3 separate regions of the Homo sapiens genome follow, and all the other regions are linked to region 3. The links are contacts of gene promoters, found by promoter capture Hi-C in human tissues and cell types (Jung and others, 2019). All regions are on one chromosome and are shown on one strand. Each heading gives the region's core, a stretch centred on a gene start or on the middle of the fragment in contact. The rest is flanking DNA. Distances are from core to core; before and after follow the strand shown. Region 1 overlaps LOC105376652 (a long non-coding RNA gene). Region 2 overlaps PRDM11 (PR/SET domain 11). Region 3 holds the start of SYT13 (synaptotagmin 13).

Region 1 (2,977 bases), core at 76-2,575, 150 kb after region 3:
TTTCCAGCTTATGGGAATGCAGCTGGCAGAGAAGGCAAGGTTAACAGCAGAGAGGTAACACCAGAAAGAGGACTTTTACTTTAATTTGGGGATGGGGATGGGGATGGGGTATGTGTGGCACATTCTTAAGCAGGGTGTTGCTCCTCTTTCCACAGCAAGATGGCTGAGCCATCAGTATTTTCCTGGGTTTTGCTCAATCTTTGCTGTCCCTGGGCTGGCTTTAGGAATTGGAGAAGTATACTCATCAGAGGATTTCTAAAGCGCCAATCACTATCTTTGGGTCTTCTCCCTAGGTAGCTGGGTGACCTTGAGTAAGCTGCTGTCATTCTGGGTTTCCTGTAAGAGGTTGACTTCGATGTCCTTAGAGGTCCCTTCCATCCAGCATCACTTTGAAGTCAGACTTTGAGTAGCTCAGAGGCAGATTGTGAAAGGATGGAGGAACAGAATGGAAACAGAAGTAGAAAGGAAATGACTGTGGCTTCATAAGCATTACTCTACCTTTCAGGAACATGTCTTTTCAATTTGCAAAGTGCTGGGGATGTGCTTAATGATCTGCAAGCTCCCTTTTATTTTTAAATTATTGTTTTAAAAATAACATTTAAGACTTTTTTATTATAACATAATACATGTCCAGTGACAAAAACCATGAGCAAAACACTAAAATAAATCAACCACAGTTTTACTACCCAGAGGTGAGGGTTATGAGCAAGTTCAGAGCTTGGTTTATGCCTTTTTGGTATGTATTTGATGGGGTGAACACTGTGGGTTGCCTATTCAGTGGCAGTCTGTCTTCACTTCTGCTCACTTCTTCTTGGCTGGCAAAGCTCTTGTTTTGTAGAAGTGTTCAAGCTCCTTGTTGTCATGGGCTCAGGGAAAATGACCCCCTGCACAGCGCAGCTCCAGGGAATCCAATCATGATTGGTTTAAGATAATGACAGTGATCCCATTTCCCTTTTCTGTGAATAGTTTAGACATTGGACATGTGATACAGTTCTGGCCAGTGAGATGCACAAGAATGACTTTGAGGGAATGTTTTCCTTGCTCTTAGAGGTCCACAGAAGATGATGGTCCTCTTTCTGTTGCTCAGCTTGGCTCTATAAGGTGGAGATTCAGGGAACTGCTGCAGCCATCCAGCAAGCAAGGAAGAACTAGGCTGAAAACAAAAACCAACACCAAAGAAAAAATCTAGATCCCGGATAACATTTTTGAGCAACTTCATTAGCCAACCCTGAAATTGCCCTATCTTTGGACTCCTGTTATTTGAGATAATAATCTGCCCTTATTTTAGAAAGGTATTTCATTATTTGCAGCTAAAAGCATTCTAACTGTTGCAAATAGGATCATATTGCTTGTATTATTTTGAGCATGCTCTTTCATTTCATAATATACCATGAACATTTTCAAAAGTCAATAACTTACTCCTGTAATAGGATTTTGAATGGCTGCACTGTATTCAACATGTTGTGAGACATTTAGGTGTTGCCAGTTTTTGCCATTATACATAATGGTGTGACAACACCCTGCACAAATCTTTGCATATTTGTTTGGTTTCAGGGGTAATTTTCTAGAAACAAAATATTGGGTAATGGTTGTATATATTATCAAGGCTTTTCCTTAAATTTCCCTCCAAAACTTTGCATTGATTTGTAATCTGCCATTGTTACCAGCTTTCCTTGTTAGCATTCTATTTTTAACTTTGCATTGAAGTATAACGTATATACAGAAAATTACACAAATCATGCTTAATTCTCACAACCTGAAAACCCTCATATAACCAACACCCAAATCAAGAAACAGAGCATTTCGAGTCATGGGGGAATCATTTGTTCCTCCACCCAGCCAGTACCCACAGAAGTAACCATTACTCAGATTCTATCACCACAAGTGAGTTTTGCCAATTCTTGAACTTCACATAAATGAAATTACATGTATGTTGACTTTTACACCTACTCCTTGTGCTCATCATTGTATCTGTGTGATTCATTCATGTTGTTGAGAATAGTAGGTTTGTTCCATTTTTTGCTGTGTGGTATCCCCATTATATGACTATACCAATGATCCATTTTACTGTTGATGGACATTTGAGTTGTGTCTAACTCTTGGCTATTTTAAACAAAGCTGCTGTAAAGTTTCATACATGCTTTTTTGATGGACATGTGTACTCTAATGTATCTTGGGTAGTTACCTACAATTCAAATTGCTTAAATTTTTAATTCAAACTGGCAACACCTAAACGTCTCATAACACGTTGAATACAGTGCAGCCATTAAAAATCCTATTATGGAAAAAGTTATTGACGGATGAAAATGTTCATGGTATATTGTAAAATGAAAGCACATGCTCAAAATAATATAAGCAATATGACCCTATTTGCAACAGTTAGAATGCTTTTAGCTGTAAATATCAAAATTTGGTGTACACTTAATACGAAATTTCCAAACAGTTCTCCAAAGTAATTGTATCAATTTACACTCTCAAAAACAATACATGAGTGAGTTCCAGGTGTGCCACGTTCTTGCCAACACTTAATATTCACAATCTTTTTCTTTTTACTCATTCTAGAAAGTTTGTAGTGATGTTCATTGTGGTTTCAATTGACTTTTTCCTGATGAGTGATAATGTTGAACACCTTCTCATGTGTTGATTGGCCATTTGAATATCCTTTCTTGTGAAGTGCTTAAGTTTTATGCCCAAAGTTTAATTGTTTTTTGTTTTATTGATTTCTCAGATATATGTATTGCCAATATCTTATCCCAGTGTATATTTTGCCTTTTCACGCTCCTGATGTCTTTTAATGAACAGAAGTTCTTAATTTTAATGAGGCCTATTTTATGGGTAATGGCTTTGGTGTTCTAACAACTTTTTAACTATCCCAATATCATAATGATATGATTCTGTATTTTCTTTTGGAAGCTTTATTGTTTTGTTTTTCACATGTAGATCTAGAATCCATTTCAAATTAATTTTGGTGTGAGGT
Region 2 (3,132 bases), core at 172-2,671, 130 kb after region 3:
GCTTACAAACCACCGACAGCTCCCCCGTGCCTCCAGGGCAAAGTCTCAATTCCTTCACACAGCATTCAAGGCCCTCCCGGCCTGGCCCTCACCTGCCTCTCCCCAGCCAACTCCACTGCTTCTCTAAACACCCATGACCGCTTGCCATTCCTGAACCATGGGGTCCTCCTGTTCCTGCCTTTGCACATACTGTTCCCAGTGCCTAAAATGCCCTTCCCTCTCCCTCCGCCTGGCAAACCCCCGCTCCTCCCTCAAGGTCCAGCTCATCGTCACCTCCTCTGGGAGGCCTAACCAGATCCTCCCTCTCCACCTCCAGGGCGAAATGACTTGCTCTCCTCTGCCCCATATCCATGAGCAAGCCAGGCGCATCCTACCTTCAATCCCAAGACCCAGGCAAGAGCTGCTCAAGAAATTTGAGGTGAAGTGACTTCTTTACTTTTTAAGTTTTCCAATCTGATGCCAACAGATATTTTTGTGAAATAAAATTAAAAATGATGTGGCAATGTCAAGTTGCCAAACAAGTTTCTCAAGGCTTTCTCTCAAAGTCTGCATGTCTCTCACCATACACCCATCCAGCACAGCTCAGGATGGGCAGAGGTCTGCGGACCACGGTCTCCATTGCCTGGCAGAGCCACTGTGCTCCCAGTGTTCCAAGAGGAACCTGGTGCAGGGCCCATCAAGAGTCAGGTGTGTACGTCTGGACCCCAGAGCACAAGGGGCCGCTCCATGAACATCTGCTGACCCAGACAATGGATGGGAAGGTTTGAAAATGCTGTAACATGGCCGGTCCTTATGCTAGGCATCCCCATTCTTCAAGTGGCCGCATAAAGGCACAGAGAGGGTGACCTGCCTGAGCCACAGTGGCTCATATGCTGTACTTTCTTTACACTGCCCATCATCTCAGGGGAAGGAACTTGGAATCTGTAAGTTAGCCATCCAAACTCCTGCCCAGCATGGATGGCTGACCTTATCTCCCACTGCAGTCCCAGCAAGCCAGTCCCATGCTGTGATAAAGAGCTCAGACTCTGGAATCAGACAGACCTAGGTTCATATCCTGGCTCAGCCTTTCATAGCTGTGTGACCTTAGGTGAGTCACCTCACTTCTCTGGGCCTCAATGTTACCTCTGTAAACTGCACCTAATAACACTAGCATCATGGGACAGCTATGAGGGTTGAATGGAACATGCCCGTCCACACTCATTTGGGCTCGGCTGTCGCTGATGTTTATAAAAGGCCCAGGGTCTGGCAGCCAGACACTCTGCCCTGGATCCTCCTTTTCTGCTTGCTCTTCTGGAGACCCAATATCTCCTCTCTGGGGTCAAGAGAGACTGCCGGTTTCCCTGGCTGCTAAGCTTGCTGATTTCCCTTGAGGACTTCACCTCCCTGCCCTCTGCCTCCCTCAGGCTAAGGGGCTTTTCCTTCCTCCCTCTCCACCCCTCCTTGAGGCACCCCTGCACCCCCTCTCCAAATGCAAACCCCCTCTGGCTGGTCTTTCTTTCTCTTGGAACACAGCCGGCCTAAAGAGGGGCACCCCTGGCCCCTGGGAAAATGACACTCTGTTTGGGTTGGAACAGTAAAGGGCTGTGAGGTCAGGGACAAGCCCCAGCCAACCACCTCCCGGCAACCCCCAGAGCCCGCCCTCTCTGTACCTTGGGCCATGACGGTGCTGAGTCCGCCCTGGCTGGGTCCCAGTTGGCTGCTCCCAAGAGAAGCTCACTTCCTTCTGGGGCTGAGGGTCTGGTGGGCTCCTCCCCATGCCCCTTGGCCATCGTGGAGCCTCCCAAGCCGGCCATCTCCATCCCCTGGCATCGGGCAGCCAGATCCTTTCCTGGCCCTCACCCCTTTCCCTTGGGGAAAGTGAGAGATAGTGGGAGAAGCCACTCCGGGAAAGCTGACATTGTGGGGGCGGTTCCATATTTACTTGCTCAGTGACGTCCATACCAGCCCAGCTCAGTGCCCTAGTCAAAGTGATCCTCCTGCCTGCTGGGCCCACTCTCGCCCTCAACTCTGACACAAGCCTGGGGGAAGGCGCCCACCGGCCACTACCCCCCTTTCTACCCCAAGCTCCTTCCAGCCACACTCCCTGCAGTAGCTGGACAATCTCTCTGTTTGGGAAGCAGGGTACAGAGGCTACAACAACACTCTCTGGGGTCCCCATTCTGCTCTGATTCCAGAAGGACTGGGGTGCAGAGGAAGGGGTGCTAGATTTGGGGTTAGAATGTTAGCTTGGTTACTTCCTAAACTGTATGAGCTCTAAGTCACTTCCCCTCTCTGAGCCTCAGTTTTCTGAGCTATAAAATGGGGGTTTTAAGAGCCAACCTGCCTGGGCTAGTGATCAGGGATCGGGAGAAGGTGCAGTTGGGAGGAGGAGAGTTCTGGTTGCTCTTATGGATCGGATGAGGTAGGGGAGACAGGACTGGAAGGGAAAGCTCTAGAAGGCACTGAAGGCTCCAGAGGCCTGGGGTGCCTCACTTTGCAAGCAGGGACCCCCCTACCACTAGCACCAACCCCTGATCTAAGGCTGCTGCTTGGGAGCAGGATGGGCAGCAGCTATCTGCCCCCACCCCTACTCCACTTCCCGTACCCAGTATCATTTCAGCGGAGGCTCCGGGTCTGTTTGAATGTGTCCGCAACTTCTGACCTGTGAGGTTCCTGGGATGGGGAGAAGGTCTGAAACCAACACTCTATAAATCAAATCCTACTTTTATTGATTTATTATTTTTTGAGACAGGGTCTCACTCTGTCTCCCAGGCAGGAGTACAGTGGTGCGATCTCAGCTCATCACAGCCTCGATCTCCCAGGGTCCAGTGATCTTCCCGCCTCAGCCTCCCAAGTTGCTGGGACTACAGGCACACATCACCAAGCCCAGGTAATTTTGTTCATTTTTTGTAAATACAGGGTCTCACTATGTTGCCCAGGCTGGTCTCAAACTCCTGGACTCAAGCGATCCTCCCACCTCAGCCTCCCAAAGTGCTGGGATTATAGGCATGAGCCACTGTGCCCAGCCCAAATCCTATTTTTAAATCACCCAAGAAACCTTCTGGGAATTATTATGTAATACAAATAGGCAACCTCAAAGACTTCCTTTATCAATGTGGTTTTCTTAAGAAGATTGGAAAAATGAGATGATAG
Region 3 (3,019 bases), core at 31-2,530:
CGTGAGTTCACCATTGCACCATCTGCAATGGTGTCTGGAGAGCTGATGTCCCAGTCCAGCTGAACCCCTAGATGACTGCAGTCCCAGAAGACAACATGTTGAGCAGGAAAACCACCCAACTGAGCCCAGCCAACCCATGAAATCATGACAAGTAACACAATAACTGGTCTAAGCCAGTAAGTCATCGGTGGGTTTTTATGCAAGTGTAGATAGCTGAAAAACTGGAGGACGGGTGGGTTCCCAGGTGGTGGTCACAGCTACAGCTCAGAGGAAAAGGTCTGGCTGGAGAGGCTATAGATTTAGGAGACATTGGCTCATAGAAATGTGAAAGCTCTGTTGTGGATGAAATCACCTACATCCCTTTTCACACATGCCCAGCACACCTAGAGCACAGCCAACCCACAGCAAATATCTGCTGAATTAAATTCAACACTCCATATAATGAAGAACACTAAAAAGCCACTGTTTTCTTGAGCTAAGACAGTCCTCATGCCCGGAATTCTAATTTCCCCTTGTTCTAAGCATAGTTTTATGCTCACCCTCTCTGAATCAAGTGTGTACTCCTAGCTGCTGCATTTTATCTTCTTTATCCTCCTAAGACAAGTCCGTTTGAGTGTGGACTTGGAATCTGCAAACATAAGCTTGGGTTCAGGGTGATGATTTTTCTACCTGTGCACCTCTCTTCTGAGCCTCGGCTTCCTCAACTATATATAAAGGTGCGAATACCTGCTGATTAGGTAATAAAGGTGAACTCTTGGGCAACCCTTAAGGGGATGCAGCTGTATTGTCCATCTTCAGCAGGACACAGGTACAGCCTCAACCCAAACATCCCATCTGTTCCCTCTACCTGTGGCCTGTTCCTCTTCCCTGTAAGAACCATCTCCCAGGTTGGGGAGCTGGGAAATCTCCAGCTTTGTGTTTGAAAAAGCTCCCGGAAGACCCAATTTTACAGCCAGCTTGGCCAGCTGCTGGGGTAGAAGGGTGAGCAAGGAGCTAGTAGTCTGGGAAAGTGACTCCTAGAGTCGCAGATCTGGTTGGAGCCCAGGTTTGTCCTCTAACACAGTGTGACCTCCGCAAGCTCCAGCACTTCTTGGGCCCAGTTGTCCCCTGTTGTACACAAAGCATTAAGAATGGCCTGAAACAACCCCAAGGCTCCTTCCACCTGGAAGGCTCCGGCTCCTGTTGGGGTGGGGGTCCGGTCACGTGTTGGCGGGGAGGGGGTTGCCGGTTGACGTGGCTGCGGGTCCAGCCTCCTCTGACGTCCTCGCAGCCGTCCTCCCTCCCTCCGTCCCCGCCCCTCTGGCGGCGGGAGAGCTGCTGGCTCGCCCGGATCCCGGGAGCTGCCTGGAGGCGGGCCCGGCCCGGGGAAGGTGAGCGGCTGCGGGACCCAGCCCCTCGCCGGGAGCGGGCACCATGGTGCTGTCGGTGCCTGTGATCGCGCTGGGCGCCACGCTGGGCACAGCCACCAGCATCCTCGCGTTGTGCGGGGTCACCTGCCTGTGTCGGCACATGCACCCCAAGAAGGGGCTGCTGCCGCGGGACCAGGACCCCGACCTGGAGAAGGCGAAGCCCAGCTTGCTCGGGTCTGCACAACAGGTGAGCGGGGGCGGCGCGCAGGCCCTTCCCGGGCAAGGCGGGGTTGCCGGGCAGCTGCAGAGGGGGAACTGGGGTGGGAGGCGGTCGTGGATCTTTGCGCGACAAAGCTTGGCGGGGAGGGGACAGCAGACGCGTTGGAGGACAGGTCAAGGAGTCAAAAAGGTAGGGGGATGGGGGAGGCTAGGGGATGGGGGAGACGAGACCTGAAGGAGAATTAGGGAGCGGCGAGCTTGTGGGGACTGAGAGAAGAATGGGGGCCAGCAGCGAGACCTAAAGGGAGGGGACAGGAAAGGGGACCTGGATAAGAATTAGGGCTGGGAAGGGTAAGAGGAGAGGGAGGCTGGGAGGGGAATCGCCAGGGTTAGGGAAGACCCTGAGAGGTACCAGAGAATGAGGAGTTTGCAGAATTGGGAAGAAGACTGGGGTCTGTGAGAGGGAGATGGGTGGTGGTTGTGGAGCCAGGGTAGGGCAAGTCCTGCCAGAGCTGAGAAGAGGTAATGCCTGCAAAGCCAGAGGGGAGGTGGCCGCGGTCCCGCAGGAGCTGGGAAGCTAGCTAGCGGGGTCTAGAGAGCTGAATCCGGGAGGAACCTGAAGGACTCTTCCCCACCCCCTAGCAGCTCTGAGCTCCAGCCAGTCAGAGGGGGTTGGTATGGCCTCCCCCAAGATGTCTCTGCAGACGTCCCTGGAGACAGGAGGGCTTTTATCCCATGCATTTGCTCATGGCCAGAGCCCCTTCGTGCAGGAAATAGCCCGTGCTCCCATTGTAAAGAGCAGCAGAAGGGGTCTGGGGAAGCAGTTTGGAAGGATTTCCCTGCATAGGCTGTGACCTCCAGGATGCATTTCCAAAGTACAGAATGCAGAATGTTCTCTGGAGAACCAGGAGGCAAAGAGTCCTGCTAGAGTGATTTGAGGAAGGATGGCCCTGGGGCAGGGGCATGACTTAAAGGACCTCCTAAAGGCCCTCTAGATCCCTTATAGACTGTATGGTTCCAGGAGTGGCACTAAAATGCTGTGACTCCATCTTCCTTTTTCCAATCAATAATTCAAAAGCTCAGAGGACCCAGTTGTGTGGGGCCTGTGTCAGTCACTGTACAGTGAGAGTGGAAAGGAAATGGCTGCTGTCCTTGAGGCACTTATAATCCAAGAACAGTGACATTGACAGTGGCTAAATAGGAGCCGGCTGCACAGCAGAATGTGGGACTTGGGACGATCTGGAAAAGGGGAATAGTGGGCTTTCCACTGGCCAGGTGTTGGGAGTCCTTCTCCACAAGTCGTGGTCGGCCGCCTCTCAACCTTCTTTCCTGCCCAACACACTTGAGGAACAGCCACTCTTCTGCCTTTCAGTGATGTCTCTCCAGGCACCGCCCCCTCCCCTTCCTAGAGAGAACCACTGGGAAACTAGTTGGTGTAAATGACCTCTAGG

What was found. The method cuts DNA at HindIII sites, captures the fragments that hold promoters and counts their contacts. A contact is called where the count stands out against the background at its distance.
Region 1: a contact is called between a fragment that was not itself captured here and the fragment with the promoter of SYT13 in region 3, in 1 of the 25 tissues and cell types used here (hippocampus).
Region 2: a contact is called between a fragment that was not itself captured here and the fragment with the promoter of SYT13 in region 3, in 1 of the 25 tissues and cell types used here (dorsolateral prefrontal cortex).

What each region holds. Positions count from the first base shown.
Region 1 is chr11:45,130,108-45,133,084 of GRCh38, reverse strand. The region is part of intron 3 of LOC105376652 (a long non-coding RNA gene); the gene reads left to right. It also overlaps a transcript of PRDM11 not described here. Among named protein-coding and RNA genes, the nearest start is that of PRDM11, 15 kb to the left of the region's middle. The HindIII fragment of the contact is 4,739 bases long and covers 1-2,977 here.
Region 2 is chr11:45,153,948-45,157,079 of GRCh38, reverse strand. The region is part of intron 1 of PRDM11 (PR/SET domain 11); the gene reads right to left. Among named protein-coding and RNA genes, the nearest start is that of PRDM11, 8.9 kb to the right of the region's middle. The HindIII fragment of the contact is 3,876 bases long and covers 1-3,132 here.
Region 3 is chr11:45,284,602-45,287,620 of GRCh38, reverse strand. SYT13 (synaptotagmin 13) reads left to right here and starts at 1,280. Exons shown (of 6, transcript NM_020826.3): 1 at 1,280-1,596. The coding sequence starts at 1,414. RefSeq lists an enhancer at 1,099-1,885. The HindIII fragment of the contact is 8,257 bases long and covers 1-3,019 here.